3 separate regions of the Homo sapiens genome follow, and regions 2 and 3 are each linked to region 1. Evidence: promoter capture Hi-C in human tissues and cell types (Jung and others, 2019). All regions are on one chromosome and are shown on one strand. The core of a region is centred on a gene start or on the middle of the fragment in contact, and the rest is flanking DNA. Distances in the headings are between cores, read along the strand shown. Region 1 holds the start of MST1R (macrophage stimulating 1 receptor). Region 2 holds the start of GNAT1 (G protein subunit alpha transducin 1). Region 3 has its middle 3.8 kb from the start of GNAI2.

Evidence for each region. Contacts are between HindIII fragments. The study calls those that stand out against the background at their distance.
Region 2: a contact is called between the fragment with the promoter of GNAT1 here and the fragment with the promoter of MST1R in region 1, in 1 of the 25 tissues and cell types used here (adrenal gland).
Region 3: a contact is called between a fragment that was not itself captured here and the fragment with the promoter of MST1R in region 1, in 1 of the 25 tissues and cell types used here (dorsolateral prefrontal cortex).

Annotation. Positions count from the first base shown.
Region 1 is chr3:49,901,625-49,906,654 of GRCh38, forward strand. It overlaps MST1R (macrophage stimulating 1 receptor), which reads right to left and starts at 2,249. Exons shown (of 20, transcript NM_002447.4): 1 at 756-2,249. The coding sequence starts at 1,985. RefSeq lists enhancers at 600-1,273, 1,274-1,947, 2,584-2,633, 2,622-3,294, 4,269-4,428 and 1 more and a silencer at 2,174-2,393. The HindIII fragment of the contact is 20,801 bases long and covers 1-5,030 here.
Region 2 is chr3:50,189,780-50,194,695 of GRCh38, forward strand. GNAT1 (G protein subunit alpha transducin 1) reads left to right here and starts at 1,831. Exons shown (of 9, transcript NM_144499.3): 1 at 1,831-2,052; 2 at 3,354-3,396; 3 at 3,486-3,627; 4 at 3,727-3,884; 5 at 3,974-4,102; 6 at 4,313-4,442; 7 at 4,722-4,875. The coding sequence starts at 1,947. RefSeq lists enhancers at 3,587-4,103, 4,104-4,620, 4,573-4,632, 4,621-4,916. The HindIII fragment of the contact is 7,512 bases long and covers 1-4,916 here.
Region 3 is chr3:50,229,974-50,234,917 of GRCh38, forward strand. It overlaps a transcript of GNAI2 not described here. Among named protein-coding and RNA genes, the nearest start is that of GNAI2, 3.8 kb to the right of the region's middle. RefSeq lists enhancers at 584-813, 4,888-4,944. The HindIII fragment of the contact is 6,486 bases long and covers 1-4,944 here.

The DNA.
Region 1 (5,030 bases), core at 999-3,498:
CATGAGTTCTGGGTACTCCCCCAATCACCCCCAATCATGGCAAAAACGTTAGTGAAGCCCAGGACATGCAGGCTCCCTAACAAGCTCCCAACTTCCAAGGCCCAGGAGGCTCCCTGGAACGTGGTGGCTGGCAGAAGGATGGGGGTGGGTGGGGGGAGGGGGTGTGGAGGAAGGGGAGATTCTCTGACAACTCCCGTCCCACCCCCTTTGGAAAGCAGAGCAAAACAAGGGAAAGTGAAACTGTTGGCAAGCAGCTGTGAGTCTGTGAATCTGTGAGCATCTCCCTGTGTATTTGTGCGTGGTGGTGGTGGTGGTGGCGGGGGTGGGGGAGGGGAGGGGGGAGTGCTATTTTTCTGCGTGTGTCCCTGAGGATATGGGTGGTGGACAAGTAGGAGGGAATGCCCATCATTCTACCCAGCATTCAGGAGCTATGCTAACAGAGACACGGTTATGTAACCCTATCCTCACATAGCCAGGGAAACTACCTAAAAAACCAGAGGCCATGATGGGCAGGTAGGGGAAAGAGCAAGATGAGGCAGCCACAAGGGCCAGCCTGGGAGCTAAGCCTCCAGTGTAGCCTTTGTCTGGCTGGTTTCTCACACCACCCCAGCACTTAGGAACTGGGTGAGAGAGAATGCTTCTTTCCGCCTGCCCCCCCACCGCGCCCCCAGATCCCCTCAGTGATGGAAGGGAAGCAGCCTGTGTTCAGCCATGTGCATGCAGCTCACAAGTAAGGGCCCCTTCTTTCAGCTTACCGGGTTGGGGCAAAAACTGGGCGACTGGAAGAAGTCGAGGCCTCGCCGGAGGCCTGGATGGACTGGGGATTCACAACAGCGCTCCACACCCTCATCAATTAGTGTGTCCAGCAGGTCAATGGGGAAGGCACAGACGACAGAGTTGGGGCCCACGCCAGGACCACCATCCTTGCCAGTCACAAAGACCCCAAATAGTACTTCCTGGCCCTCGGCGATGCTCAGCTCAGTGGCAAGTTGGGCACCCACTGGAGCGGAGTGGGCCACCCGCAGCACAGGGTAGGGCTGTCCGCCTTCTGGGGCCCCCCGGCGCCTGCGTTTTGGAGCAAATCTGCAGTCGAGGACCAGCTCCCGATAGTCACCCAACTCTGGCTCAGTGGCGCTAAGCCGTGCCAGGCGTGTGTGCAGGGCACTAGGATCATCTGTCACGCTGGCCGGCTGTACAGTCAGGAAGTATACGAAGGCTCCCGTGTGGAAGCTGTGCACGTATTCAATACTGTAGGAGACAAGATGCTTGGGCAGCACTGACAACGCCACAAAGCCCGGTGCGAATCCCGAGGCGTCAGCCTTGAGACGCCTGATAGACACTGAGCGTGGGCTGAAGCTGGCAGCCACGGCTGCGTCCAGTGAGGATGCCACGTAGAAATAGGAGGCCTGGCCTTGCTCAACCACAGTTACACGGGTGCCCAATGGGCTGGCCACACAGTCGGGGCAGTCATCGGGCCGGTTATGGTGGGCTGAGAAGAGGCAGGCTGGCGCTGCCAGATGCACGGCTGTCCCTTGGGGCTCTAGGTCATGCAGGAAGCAGCGGCCCTGCAGGCTGGAGCCACAACTGACCAGCGCAGGCAGCGCGGGATCCAGCACCAGCACCTTTGTGTCTGTGTCACCGGGAGGGCCGTGGGGTCCTGGGCCACAGGCTGCACACGTCTGGCAGCCAGGGTCTCCAGCAGGGCCCGTGGCCAGGCTCTGGACAGACTTCAGGTCAGGCCCAAGCACATGCAGGCGATTGCGTATGGCTACAAACACAGCACTCTCATTTCTGTCGCCCTCGTAGGTCACCATGGCCTGTACCAGGCCTCCGGCGGAGAAGCTGGGCACCACGTACTTCACGTCAAAGTCGCGAGAGGCCGCGTAGGGGGTGCGCGGGCACTGCCAGTCCTCGCCCGCCGCGGGCTTGGCAGGCAACAGCAGCAGCAACAGGAAGGACTGAGGCAGCGGCGGGAGGAGCTCCATCGAGGCGAGCTGGGACCCTAGAGGATCCCTACCGGCCTGGGCCTGGACCTGGGCGTGGGCCTGGCTGGGGGCCCGACTCGAGGTCTGGACTGGGCCAAATTTAAGCAGCGGTCCCGACAGCCCCAAGATAGCGGACCCCCGCCCCAGGTTCCTGTGAAACCCAAATCCCTTCCCGGCCCTCGGGTCTGAGCACCTGACGCCTGCGGACGCACGACAGCAACGCCCCAGCCGCCTCACCTGCCGCCCCAGCCGCCGCTGTACACTGGCGCTTAGCGCTCAGCCGACCCGAGGGCGCCGGGCTGGGCGGGCGGAGTCGGGCCGTGGGGGCGGGGCCGCGAGGAAGGCTTGGCCTAGCCCAGGCCCTCCGCCCATCCGACTCTTCCGGCCCTTGGAGGCCTGGCTCCTGTACCTTCACCTGGCGTCTTGGCGCCTTTTTCTCAGCGGCCTGTGGGTGGATGTGCATGGTGTGGCCTGGAGAGAGGTGAGCCAGTCTGAGCCGTCCCATCCCATCCCCCCACTACCGACTGGTTCGCAGCGAGAAGGGGGGCAGGACACTGGGCTCTTTGCTTGCGGTGGAACTAGTTTGCACTTAGTAGCAACACCCTCAGTGGCTGGTGCCCAGAGGTGGCCTGGGGGCCCACCATGTGGAGAACAGAGACCAGGATTGTGTGGAAGACCAGAGGGGAGATGTGGGGCACTTACAAGAGATGTTATGGGGCGCCACCCTTTGTGGGAAAGGACTGTCCTTTTTTTTTTTTGAGAAGGAGTCTTGCTCTGTGGCCCAAGCTGGATTGCAGTGGCGCGATCTCGGCTCACTGCAAACTCCGCCTCCCAGGTTCAAGCGATTCTCCAGCCTCAACCTCCTCCTGTCTCAACCTCCTGAATAGCTGGGATTACAGGCGCGCACCACCACACCCGGCTAATTTTGTATTTTTAGTAGAGACAGGATTCACAGTGTTGGCCAGGCTGGTCTCAAACTCCTGACCTCAGGTGATCCGCCCGCCTCAGCCTCCCAAACTGTTGGGATTACAGGCGTAAGCCACCGCGCCCGGCCGGGACCATTCTTCCATGTGCTTCTCCTGAGCTATCAGCGACAAGATGGTGTCAGAGGAAGGTGTGTTATGCCCTGCTCTCCCAGGGCCATAAGGGTCTTAGGATGGGATCTGGCCTTGCTGACTGGACCTCAGAGTCAGAGAGGCACGTAAGTGGAGGCCCATACCTCCTCTGCAGCCTCAGTATATGGAAGCTGTATAATGGGGTCCACAGTATGGGCCTTGGGGACTCCCCCTTCCTTCCTGGCTCTACCCAGTGCCCCCCTGATATGGAGGAATCATGGGCTTTGGCTCTCAGGACACTTCCAACATGCTCTGTAGGCCTTGCTGGATCTTATTCTCTTCAATGAGAATGTAGTTCTGGGCTGGGCACCGTGGCTCATGCCTGTAATCCTAGCACTCCTTTGAGGGGCCAAGGCAGGAGGATTGCTTGAGGTTAGGAGTTCAAGACCAGCCTGGGCAACATAACAAAACTCAACAAAACAAAAAAACTGCTAAAAATGTTTTTAAAATAAAATATGTGACCGGGCGTGGTGGCTCACGCCTGTAATCCCAGCACTTTGGGAGGCCGAGGCGGGTGGATCGCTTGAGGTCAGGAGTTCAAGACCAACATGGTGAACAGACAGATCTGGCCAACATGGTGAAACTATCTCCACTAAAAACAAAAATTAGCCGGGCGTGGTGGTGGGTGCCTGTAATCCCAGCTACTAGGGAGGCTGAGGCAGGAGAATAGCTTGAATTTAGGGGGTGGAGGTTGCAGTGAGCTGAGATTGTGCCACTGCACTCCAGCCTGGGTGACAGAGCGAGACTCCATCTCCAAAAAAAGAAAAAGAAAACGTAGTTCCGACTAGGTGATTTCCCAGAGTTCTCTCTTCTGTTTATGAGGAGTGGGGGTGGGGGAGCCTAGTCCCACACTTGGATCTCAGCAGCTGCCCCTTGGTAACTGGTCCCCCAACACTAGACTGAGGCCCCTGGGGGACAACCTTAGCCTGACAGACCCCTCAGTTAGATAGGCCTGGACCCTAGAAGACAGGGAAGGTCCACAGGGTGGGTCTGGGCTGTGAACTATGGGCCCCAAGGCTGTAGATAAGGAGGCTGGGGGAGAGAGGAGCCCTCAGCCCAACAGGATTTAGCCTGGCTTGGGGAGCTATATCTCCTCACTCCCCTTTCAGTTCATACTTCTGTGCCTGCATCCCCTTCCTAACCTGACCTTTGTAAGTGCTGTTCCTCCTTCCAGGAGCACTCTTTCCCTTTTCTCCTTTTGCCACCTAAATGGCACCTCCTCCAGGAAGCCTTTTTGATCCAGACTTTGCCAGTCCCCTCTCCTGGGTCTCACAGACCCAGTGCTACACTCACCCCAGCACAGTTTACTCTGGATACTTCACTTCCTCCATCCCCAGTGCAGGACTCCCCCTCCTTCCAGCCTGGAGCTCCATGAGCACCTGAAGACTGAAAGAGGAAATGGAAGTGGGGGCGGCCACACCCAGTGCAGGGTTGATACTGTGCCCTGAGGTGACATAAAAGACACTCCTTTTCCAAAGCAGAATTGGCCAGGAAATGAATAAACACCCGGAGAAAACCGTGGCGTGGTTCCTGCATTCCACAGTCAACACATCTAAAGATAGGCAAGGCAAAACTAAAATGAAACATTCTCAGCCTGGCGCACAGACAGGGGTTCTGGTGACCCAAATCCCACCTCCAGACTTTCAGAGGGATCTCTGGTGGTTGGGAGAAGACTTCACAAGCCCTCTTAGATCACCCCACCCACCCCTTTTTGGGGGTGGTGTTGCGGCAACCATCCGTTAGTTCTCCGCTGCCACCGTGTGGCCGCGCTAATGGCTGTCCCCAGGCTGAGGTCCCCTGTAAGGCAGCCTTGGTTCTCAACAGCAGGGGTACACAGGAGCACCCCTTCCCCCTCTCGCCATCTGCCGCCTCTATAGGAGGGGGCAGTCAAGGTGTGTGGGGGAGGTCAGCTAATGGGACTCTTAAGTGC
Region 2 (4,916 bases), core at 581-3,080, 290 kb after region 1:
AGGAGCAGGATAGGTGAGCCCCATTCCTCCATACCCCAGGGAACACTACACCTGCTCTGGGATGCAATTTCTCCACCTGGCAACAGGCCTGCAAAACATTCTCTGGAAGAGCCTGGCCACTTCTGCAGATTAGAGACTTTGTTGCACCCAAATTCAAGTGTACATATAGGCACAGGCGCCTGCAAGCATGCATGCACACACACAGTCATACACAGGCAGAGATGGACATGCACAGGCACACATATGCTCAGGTACAAACAGGCATGTTTACACCCCTGCGTATAAGCAAGTGCACACATGCAAACCTACACAAACTGCAAAACACACAAGCCTATGTGTGCATGAAGAGAATACACAAAGCATATTCACACATGCATACACATGTGTATACATGTGCACACATACATAAGCATGCGCACAGGCACGTGATTCCTATAAGAGCACATGCACTCACAAAGGCATAAACATGCAGGCACACATGTACACACAGGTATTCATGCACAAATGTGTCAAGTTATTGCTCGCTTGGTGCCAGCAAAAGACACACCCATGGCCGGGCGAGGTGGCTCACACCTGAATCCCAGCACTTTGGGAGGCCGAGGTGGGTGGATCACAAGGTCAGGAGATCGAGACCATCCTGACCAACATGGTGAAACCCCGTCTCTACTAAAAATACACAAAAAATTAGCTGGGTATGGTGGCACATGCCCGTAATCCCAGCTACTTGGGAGGCTGAGGTGGGAGAAGCTTAAACCAGGGAGTTGAAGGTTGCAGTGAGCCAAGATCGTGTCACAGCACTCAAGCCTGGCAACAGAGTGAAACTCTGTCTCAAAAAAAAAAAAAAAAAAAAAAAAAAAAGGCCAGGCACGGTGGCTCATGCCTGTAATCCCAGCACTTTGGGAGGCCGAGGCGGGCAGATCACGAGGTCAGGAGACTGAGACCATCCTGGCTAACACGGTGAAACCCTGTCTTTACTAAAATACAAAAAAAGTAGCCCGACGTAGTGGCGGGCACCTGTTGTCCCAGCTACTCAGGAGGCTGAGGCAGGAGAATGGCGTGAACCTGGGAGGTGGAGCTTGCAGTGAGCTGAGATTGCGCCACTGCACTCCAGCCTGAGCAACAGAGCGAGACTCCATCTCAGAAAAAAAAAAAAAAAAGACACATACACCGAGGCACACAGAGCAGATATGCATGCCCACCACAGTCCGCTGGAAGCAGAGGACCTCCTTGGGGCAGCTCCAGCCTGTGATATGGGATGAATGCAATGCCCACTGTTTCCCTCTCTCTGGATTCCCTGCAGGTCATAAAATCCCAGTCCAGAGTCACCAGCCCTTCTTAACCACTTCCTACTGTGTGACCCTTTCAGCCTTTACTTCCTCATCAGTAAAATGAGGCTGATGATATGGGCATCCATACTCCAGGGCCAGTGTGAGCTTACAACAAGATAAGGAGTGGTGCTGAGCCTGGTGCCGGGCAGGCAGCAGGCATGTTTCTCCCAATTATGCCCTCTCACTGCCAGCCCCACCTCCATTGTCCTCACCCCCAGGGCTCAAGGTTCTGCCTTCCCCTTTCTCAGCCCTGACCCTACTGAACATGTCTCCCCACTCCCAGGCAGTGCCAGGGCCTCTCCTGGAGGGTTGCGGGGACAGAAGGACAGCCGGAGTGCAGAGTCAGCGGTTGAGGGATTGGGGCTATGCCAGCCCGATTAGAAGGGTTGGGGGGGCTGAGCTGGATTCACCTGTCCTTGTCTCTGATTGGCTCTTGGACACCCCTAGCCCCCAAATCCCACTAAGCAGCCCCACCAGGGATTGCACAGGTCCGTAGAGAGCCAGTTGATTGCAGGTCCTCCTGGGGCCAGAAGGGTGCCTGGGAGGCCAGGTTCTGGGGATCCCCTCCATCCAGAAGAACCACCTGCTCACTCTGTCCCTTCGCCTGCTGCTGGGACCATGGGGGCTGGGGCCAGTGCTGAGGAGAAGCACTCCAGGGAGCTGGAAAAGAAGCTGAAAGAGGACGCTGAGAAGGATGCTCGAACCGTGAAGCTGCTGCTTCTGGGTAGGGGTGTGGGCCCAGGTGGGGCCACTGCCACCAGGTCATTGGTCTGGAGGCAGGCAGGCAGCCCTTCTGTGAAGCAAGGATTCCCTGGGAAGCAGTATGAGCCTGTGACAGAGTAGGGCACAGGGTGGGAGCCCTGGCCAAGCAAGGCCAGGCCTGACAGGTGGTGTCCTAGTCCCCCAGGGCTGGACATCCCACAAAGCCCCTCTCCAGACGGCTCTGCCTCAGGTGACCCACCCTCCCCAGAAGTGCGTGCCAACCACACTCTTGCACGGGTGTGTGATGCCGACTTTTCCGTGGCTGGGTTCCCGCAAGCTTCATGCAGCCTTTGGTTTGATACGCCTGCTAGGCAATGCTCAGAAGCCAGGAGCCTCACTGGGAGCCCGTTATTGGGCTGCTACTTTGGGAAGGGGATGGCCATAGTCCTCCTGGGAGTGGGGAGCCTCTAGGACCACCCAGATCCACAACGAATGGCCCTCAGGTGCCAGAGGGCTGTGGCTGATAGACCTACAAAGCAGCCAGAGGGGCTGGCGGGTACTGAGGCCCAGTGGGAGTAGATAAAGCCGCGTCCACTGGACCATGGGCACTGAGGAGAGATGGGGCTGATCCAGGCCTGCCTCAAGGTCACTGCCTGACCTCTCAAGGGGAAAAAGCAGCTTCAAGAGGGGCTCCACCCAAGCTCCCCAGGGTCTGGTCAACCAGCTGGAGGTGGGTGAGGGACCAAGCCAGTCCCACTTTCCCCCAAGGCAGAGAGGCTAAGCCGGAAATCTCATTAACTGTGCCCAACGCCCTCGCAGGGGCAAGCTCAGAAAGGATGTCAACTCTGCCCTCCCTCCTACCCAAAAGAGCTAATTCCCTCTGAGCCTCCTGGAGACACCTGCACCCCTTCAGGTGAAATGCAAGGGGTTTACCCGCCTCAAATAACCCAGTGCTTGCGGTACCAGAGGCTCCCACGAGGTGGCGATGACGCTCCGGGATTTCTTCATTGCAGTCTCACAGCATAATAAAGGCTGCCTGTGCCGGGGTCTTGGGGACTCCCCTGTCCCAGAACAGTTGAGGTCGTTGAGTCCCCTCGTTGGCTTCCTTTCTTCACTTTCCTGGCATTTGCAAACCTTGTGACTTCAGGATGTCAGGACTTAATTTGGATGGGGGGGTAGGTGTGGCTACGGGGTCGGGGCTGGCGCTCAGGCCTCTTCGCTGCGGGTCCACCCTGCCAACTCGGGAGGTCCCCGTCCTCCTGGCCTCCTTGCTGGAGGGGGCAGGCTGGTCAGCGCAGCTCTGAGGCGCCGCGTCTCTTTCAGGTGCCGGTGAGTCCGGGAAGAGCACCATCGTCAAGCAGATGAAGTGAGTGCCCCTGCCTGTCCCGAGGCCCCTGGGTCTGGGTCCTTCCCCACTTCCCCACGAGGCGCTGATTCTGCTCTCCTCGGCCTCAGGATTATCCACCAGGACGGGTACTCGCTGGAAGAGTGCCTCGAGTTTATCGCCATCATCTACGGCAACACGTTGCAGTCCATCCTGGCCATCGTACGCGCCATGACCACACTCAACATCCAGTACGGAGACTCTGCACGCCAGGTGTGCCAGGAGGCGGGCTGAGCGGGCCTCTGGGGACTCGAGGCTCGCGGCTGGGCCCGAGTCCCTGGCCGCCACCAGCCACTCTCACCCTGCCCCCAGGACGACGCCCGGAAGCTGATGCACATGGCAGACACTATCGAGGAGGGCACGATGCCCAAGGAGATGTCGGACATCATCCAGCGGCTGTGGAAGGACTCCGGTATCCAGGCCTGTTTTGAGCGCGCCTCGGAGTACCAGCTCAACGACTCGGCGGGCTAGTGAGCGCGCGGGCAGCGCGGGGCGCGGGGCGCGGGGCGCAGGGGGCCCTCCACGCCTCCCCACCCACCTACGGCCGGGTCTCGCGCAGCTACCTCTCCGACCTGGAGCGCCTGGTAACCCCGGGCTACGTGCCCACCGAGCAGGACGTGCTGCGCTCGCGAGTCAAGACCACTGGCATCATCGAGACGCAGTTCTCCTTCAAGGATCTCAACTTCCGGTACGACCCATACGCTAGCCCAGGAGGTCACTGCCCCAGGCCCCGTCCTGCCCCGGGGACCCCATCCCTGCGATAGACCCTGCCCCTTCCCTGATACCCCGCCAGCAGAAAGGGTGGTAGTCCCGGCCGAGAGCTCCCCGACCAGCACAGGGCGAAGGGATGTTGCCTGTGGGGCCCGGGGCGCAGGTTCAGGCCCCCGCGGCCCCGCAGGATGTTCGATGTGGGCGGGCAGCGCTCGGAGCGCAAGAAGTGGATCCACTGCTTCGAGGGCGTGACCTGCATCATCTTCATCGCGGCGCTGAGCGCCTACGACATGGTGCTAGTGGAGGACGACGAAGTGGTGCGTGCCAGGCAGGGCCTGTGTTCCAGGGGGGCGAGGAGGAGCTGCTGGTCCCTGGAGGCGGAGACCGCGCGCTGGGCTGGGGGAGGGCACGGGAGGGGATGCCTGTCCCGGGCGGCCTGAGGAGGCCCGGAGGCGTTCAGCAGGCCCATCTGGGGCAGTGCGGGGAGCCCTCTGAGAGCCAGCTGAGCGGGAAGCCCCGCGTGCCCGGGAGCCCAGAGAGCAGGTGCTGCGGGTCGGACGCTACCCCGGGTGCCCAACAGCTGCTGCCCTCCTCAGAACCGCATGCACGAGAGCCTGCACCTGTTCAACAGCATCTGCAACCACCGCTACTTCGCCACGACGTCCATCGTGCTCTTCCTTAACAAGAAGGACGTCTTCTTCGAGAAGATCAAGAAGGCGCACCTCAGCATCTGTTTCCCGGACTACGATGGTGAGAAGTCCGCAAGGCCGCCAGGCGGCGCCCCCGCCCCA
Region 3 (4,944 bases), core at 1,421-3,920, 330 kb after region 1:
AGCCGCCACCCCTGTGTCAGGTTGGGCCCCCTTGCCTAATCCAGAAGCTTATGGGGAAGGGGTGCTGGGGCCTGAATTCTCCAGGTCAAAGCCAATGATCTGTGAAGAGGGTGGATGACCAGAAAGGGGGACTTTGGGATCCAGGACCCCCAGGCTTTTGAGTTTTCCTCCTGGACGAAGAGAGGCCTGGGAAGAGGGGTCTGCAAGGGAGCAGGGAGGGAGGGCAGGATGGCTGACTCCAGTTTCAGAACTTCCACTGGGCTAAGAAGCAGGAAGGGGAAAGCGCAGGAGTTGAACCAGGAAGTAGAACCTGCCCCAGGGCAGTAAGGCGGGAGCAAGCTGTAGCCACGAGGTCTACAAGCAGTAGCTGCAAGGCTGTGATTGAGTTGGTCACAGGTCCTTGGCCAGGGACTCCCTGTCATCTGGGAGCCGTGGAGGTAGGGTGGTCAGGATCCTGAACTCTGGGCATCCCTGTGGGGTCCTACCTAGTCCTGGACTCTGGGCAGGGACAGGCACACCCACCCCGAAACTGCCTTTGGGGAAGTGCTAGCAGCTTCCCCTTCCTAGAGCCTGCAGGCAAGCATGTCACAGCCCACTGAGAGGGTCTTCATTCCTCAACCTGCTCAGGGCTACTGCTCGATAGGAACTCAGGCCAAGCTGGACCTGCTGTGCTGCCTGTGGTGAGCCCCAAGACTATTCTGGCAGTAGGGGTGAACCAGCAGCTGCCACTTCTCCATTCCAGCTGAGGGGCCACCCTCAACTCTGCTGATGTCATTCCATTGTCCTTTATGGTCTAGTCCAAGCGGTGCTGGGCCTGGTGGGCATGGGGTCAAGTCATGCCTCCTCTGGTGCTCGTGAGGCCCTGGCTAGGCAGCTGCCCTCTGCCCCCAAAATGAACTCTCCTGAAAGGACTCCTGGATTCCTGAGTATGAAGAAACTGAGATGCCCACGATGTACCTCACTGATGACTGTGACTGGCTCCTGGCCCACTCTGGACCTCAGCTGACTCAGCTGCAAAGCAAGGGGTTTGTTTCTTCAGCTCTCAGCCTTAATTTTCTCGCTAGCCCTTCCCCAGACCCCTGCCTCTCAGACCTACCACCCTACCTTTGCATGTACTCTTCCATCTTCTTGCAATATTCTTCCGCACTGTTCTTCTCCCTCTAGCACTCCCTGCATCACCTCCTCAAAGAAAGCTTCCTGACCTTCCCAGGCACTATTGGTTTCTCTTTTCTCTGCGTATACAACTACATGAATATTTCCAGAGGGGCAGCAGCTCCCAGCTCCAGGATGAAGAGATTGATTGATGGATTGATTGATTGATTTTGAGACAGAGTCTACCTCTGTTGCCGGGCTGGAGGGCAATGGTGCGATCTCAGCTCACTGCAACCTCTGCCTCTTGGGTTCAAGCGATTGTCCTGCCTCAGCCTCGCAAGTAGCCGGGATTACAGGCATGCGCTGCCACGCCCAGCTAATTTTTGTATTTTTAGTAGAGATGGGGTTTCACCATGTTGGCCAGGATAGTCGATCTCTTGACCTCATGATCTGCCCACCTCAGCCTTCCAAAGTGCTGGGATTACAGGCTCGAGCCACCGCACCCGGCCTTATTCATTTAAGTTGATACATATTTACCTGCCACCCTGCAAGGGGCCTGGAATTAGGGATATGAGTGGGAGAGACCCACGACCAGAATAGTGGGATCTGGCTGGGGAAGGGGAAGCCCGAGGACAATGGGACTCAGAGAAGCCCAGCTCACAGCCAGGGAATGAAAGGTGGGGAGGAGGGATTAATTTAACAGGGTAGGGGGATGGGAGGGAAGATCGAGGGATGGAGAGAGCAAGGCAAGCCAGATGGTTGGAGTGCCAGTGTGTTGCAAGTGGAGGGACATGAGGTGGACCCTTGAGTGGGGACAATCATAAAGCCTTACAGAAATCGCTACTATTGGGCCAGGCACAGTGGTTCATGCCTGTAATCCCAGCACTTTGGGAGGCCAAGACGGGAGGATTGCCTGAGCCCAGGAGTTTGAGACCAGCCTGGACAACATGGTGAGACTTCATCTCTATTAAAAAAAAAAAAAGGGCCGTGCACGGTGGCTCACACCTGCAATCCAGCACTTTGGGAGGCCGAGGCAGGCAGATCATCTGAGGTCAGGAGTTTGAGACCAGCCTGGCCAACATGGCAAAACCCCATCTCTACTAAAAATACAAAAATTAGCCGGGTGTGGTGGCAGGCGCCTGTAATCCCAGCTACTTGGGGAGCTGAGGCACAAGAATCACTTGAACCCAGGAGGCGGAGGTTGCAGTGAGCCAAGATCATGCCACTGCGCTCCAGCTTGGGTGATAGAGTCAGACTCAGTCTCAAAAAAAAAGAAATCACTACTATAACACCTCACCCTTATTGAGGGCTTTCTATGTGCCATGCACATTCTGCATGTTTTACATGTTTCCTCCTGGAGTCCTGACCTCTGCCTGTGCTTTGGGTATGTATAACCGTTAGGCCCATTTTACTGATAAGAAAACCGAGGTACAGGGAGTTTCTGGTACTTGTCCAAAGTAACAAGTAGCTGGCAAGTTTGCAAACTGCTCCTCAGAGTCTTTGCTTCCAACTGCCAGCCTACAGCCTCCAACTGCTGCAGAGTCCAAACCAGTGTGTGTGGGGGCTTCATCTATTCTCAGGGCATTGGGGAACCACAGAAAGTTTCCGAGCAAGGGGGTGATGTGATTTCTTTCAGTAGGATGCCCTTGGCTGCCATGTGGAGGATAAATTGTAGGGAAACAGGAGAGCCAAGGAAGACGTTAGAATCCTAGGCTGGGAGATAGTGGGGACAGAGAACAAATACAGATTGGAGGGGAAATTGAGGTAGGGAAGAGGCTGATGGCATATAGGGGTAGGGGAGGGGGTCATTGCTGTGGCTGGTGGGGGGATCATGAAGTGGTGGAGAGCCTGGGAACAGGGGCCAGTGGGATGGGATGTACCCAGTTCTGGACAGTGTGGATTTGAGGTGCCTGGGTGTCTCGGGGAGGCTTCAGAGCAGTGGTGGACATGGGGCTGGCAATCAAAGAAGTCAGGCTGGAGAGGACCTTGTGGGGTTCTGAGCCCCCAGAGTGGGAGGTGTATGAGTGGAGTGGCAAGCAGAGGCCTGGCCATAGCCCTGGGGACCCCATGGAGATGGAGAAGGAGCAGCTAGCAGGGTGGAAGCAAGGGTTGCTGGACTCCCTGGGAAGAGCATAGGACTGGAAAGGAGCAGCTGACTGGCGGGAAGGGTGCCATAACCACAGGACCTGGCCTGGGGCTGGGGAAGGCCATGCCTTCCAGTAGCCCCATCTTGCCCTGCCTCCATAGATTGGGGTCTGTGTTGCGCCCACCTACTGAGAGCTGGGCCTCCAAGGGGCTGACAGGTTCTCCCTGTTGCCTGGCAACTGTGAGAGCTGTTGGCTGTTGCTAGGAGCAGGCTAGAGAGGCCAGAGGAGCGAGGATCAGCTCTCAAGCCTGGGGCAGGGTGACAGGTAGAGGGAAGGGGAGGGTCCCACCTTGGAAGCCAGTTTGTAGTCTGTGCGTGGACAGATTGTATTCTTGGCCATGTGTACCCATTTTTGTAGAGTGTGTTCTGTGGATCTGAGGCATGTTGGAGACTGACCTATGTGTGGGTGTCTACAGCATATCTGTGGCCCTGGTGGACATTATGTGTCCTCAACATGTTGCATGCCCATGGCAGGGCCTGCTTGAGCTTCAGAGCAGTGGTGGACATGGGACATCATATCCTATGTCTCAGGACAGGAGGGGGGCCTGAGGGAGTCATTGGAGGACTTCCAGGCCAATGACCCCTCAACAAGAGAGACATTCAGATAGGGATATGCAGACACTCCAGGGAGAACAGCCAGCCTGGGGATTGGGAGCTGGAACAAAATGTGTAACAAGGTTCTTTTTTTTTTTTTTTTTTTTTGAGACGGAGTCCTGCTCTGTTGCCCAGGGTAGAGTGCAGTGGTGTGATCTCAGCTCACTGCAATCTCCAGTTCCCAGGTTCAAGTGATTCTCCTGTTTCAGCCTCCTGAGTAACCAGGATTACAGGCACGTGCCACCACGCCCAGCTGATTTTTTTTTTTTTTTTTTTTTTGAGACGGAGTCTTGCTCTGTCACCCAGGGTGGAGTGCAGAGACAGAATCTCAGCTCACTGCAAGCTCCGCCTCCTGGGTTCACACCATTCTCCTGCCTCAGCCTCCTGAGTAGCTGGTACTACAGGCGCCCGCCACCACGCCGGCTAATTTTTTGTATTTTTAGTACAAAATACACCGTGTTAGCCAGGATGGTCTCCATCTCCTGACCTCGTGATCTGCCGCCTCGGCCTCCCAGTACTGGGATTACAGGCGTGAGCCACCGTGCCCGGTCTTTTTTTTTTTTTTTGAAATGGAGTTTCACTCTTGCCCAGGCTAGAGTGCAATGGCATGATCTCAGCTCACTGCAACCTCCGCCTCCTGGGTTCAAGTGATTCTCCTGCCTCAGTCTCCCAAGTAGCTGGGATTACATGTGCCCACCACCACACCCCGCTAATTTTTTGTATTTTAGTAGAGACAGGGTTTCTCCATGTTGGTCAGGCTGGTCTCGAACTCCTGACCTCAAGAGATCTGCCTGCTTCAGCCTCCCAGAGTTGCTGGGATTATAGGCATGAGCAACCATGCCCAGCCAAAATGTGTACCAAGGTTCTAAGGAAGGGGTTTATGCTAAACACCGGGCTGTTGGTGGCAAGCACCCTGTCTTGCTTCAGGGGCCTTCCCTTTGGGCTGGGGCCTCCTAGCCTCATGGCACTGGGGTCACACAAAATGCCTTCGTGGTTAATTTTTGGCAGACCCTTCAAATGTCCAATCGAGGGTGGGGCTCTGGGCTGCTCCTGGAGCACAGGATCAGAAAGACTTGAAATGTTCAGCTAGAAACACTGCTGCTTCCACCCCA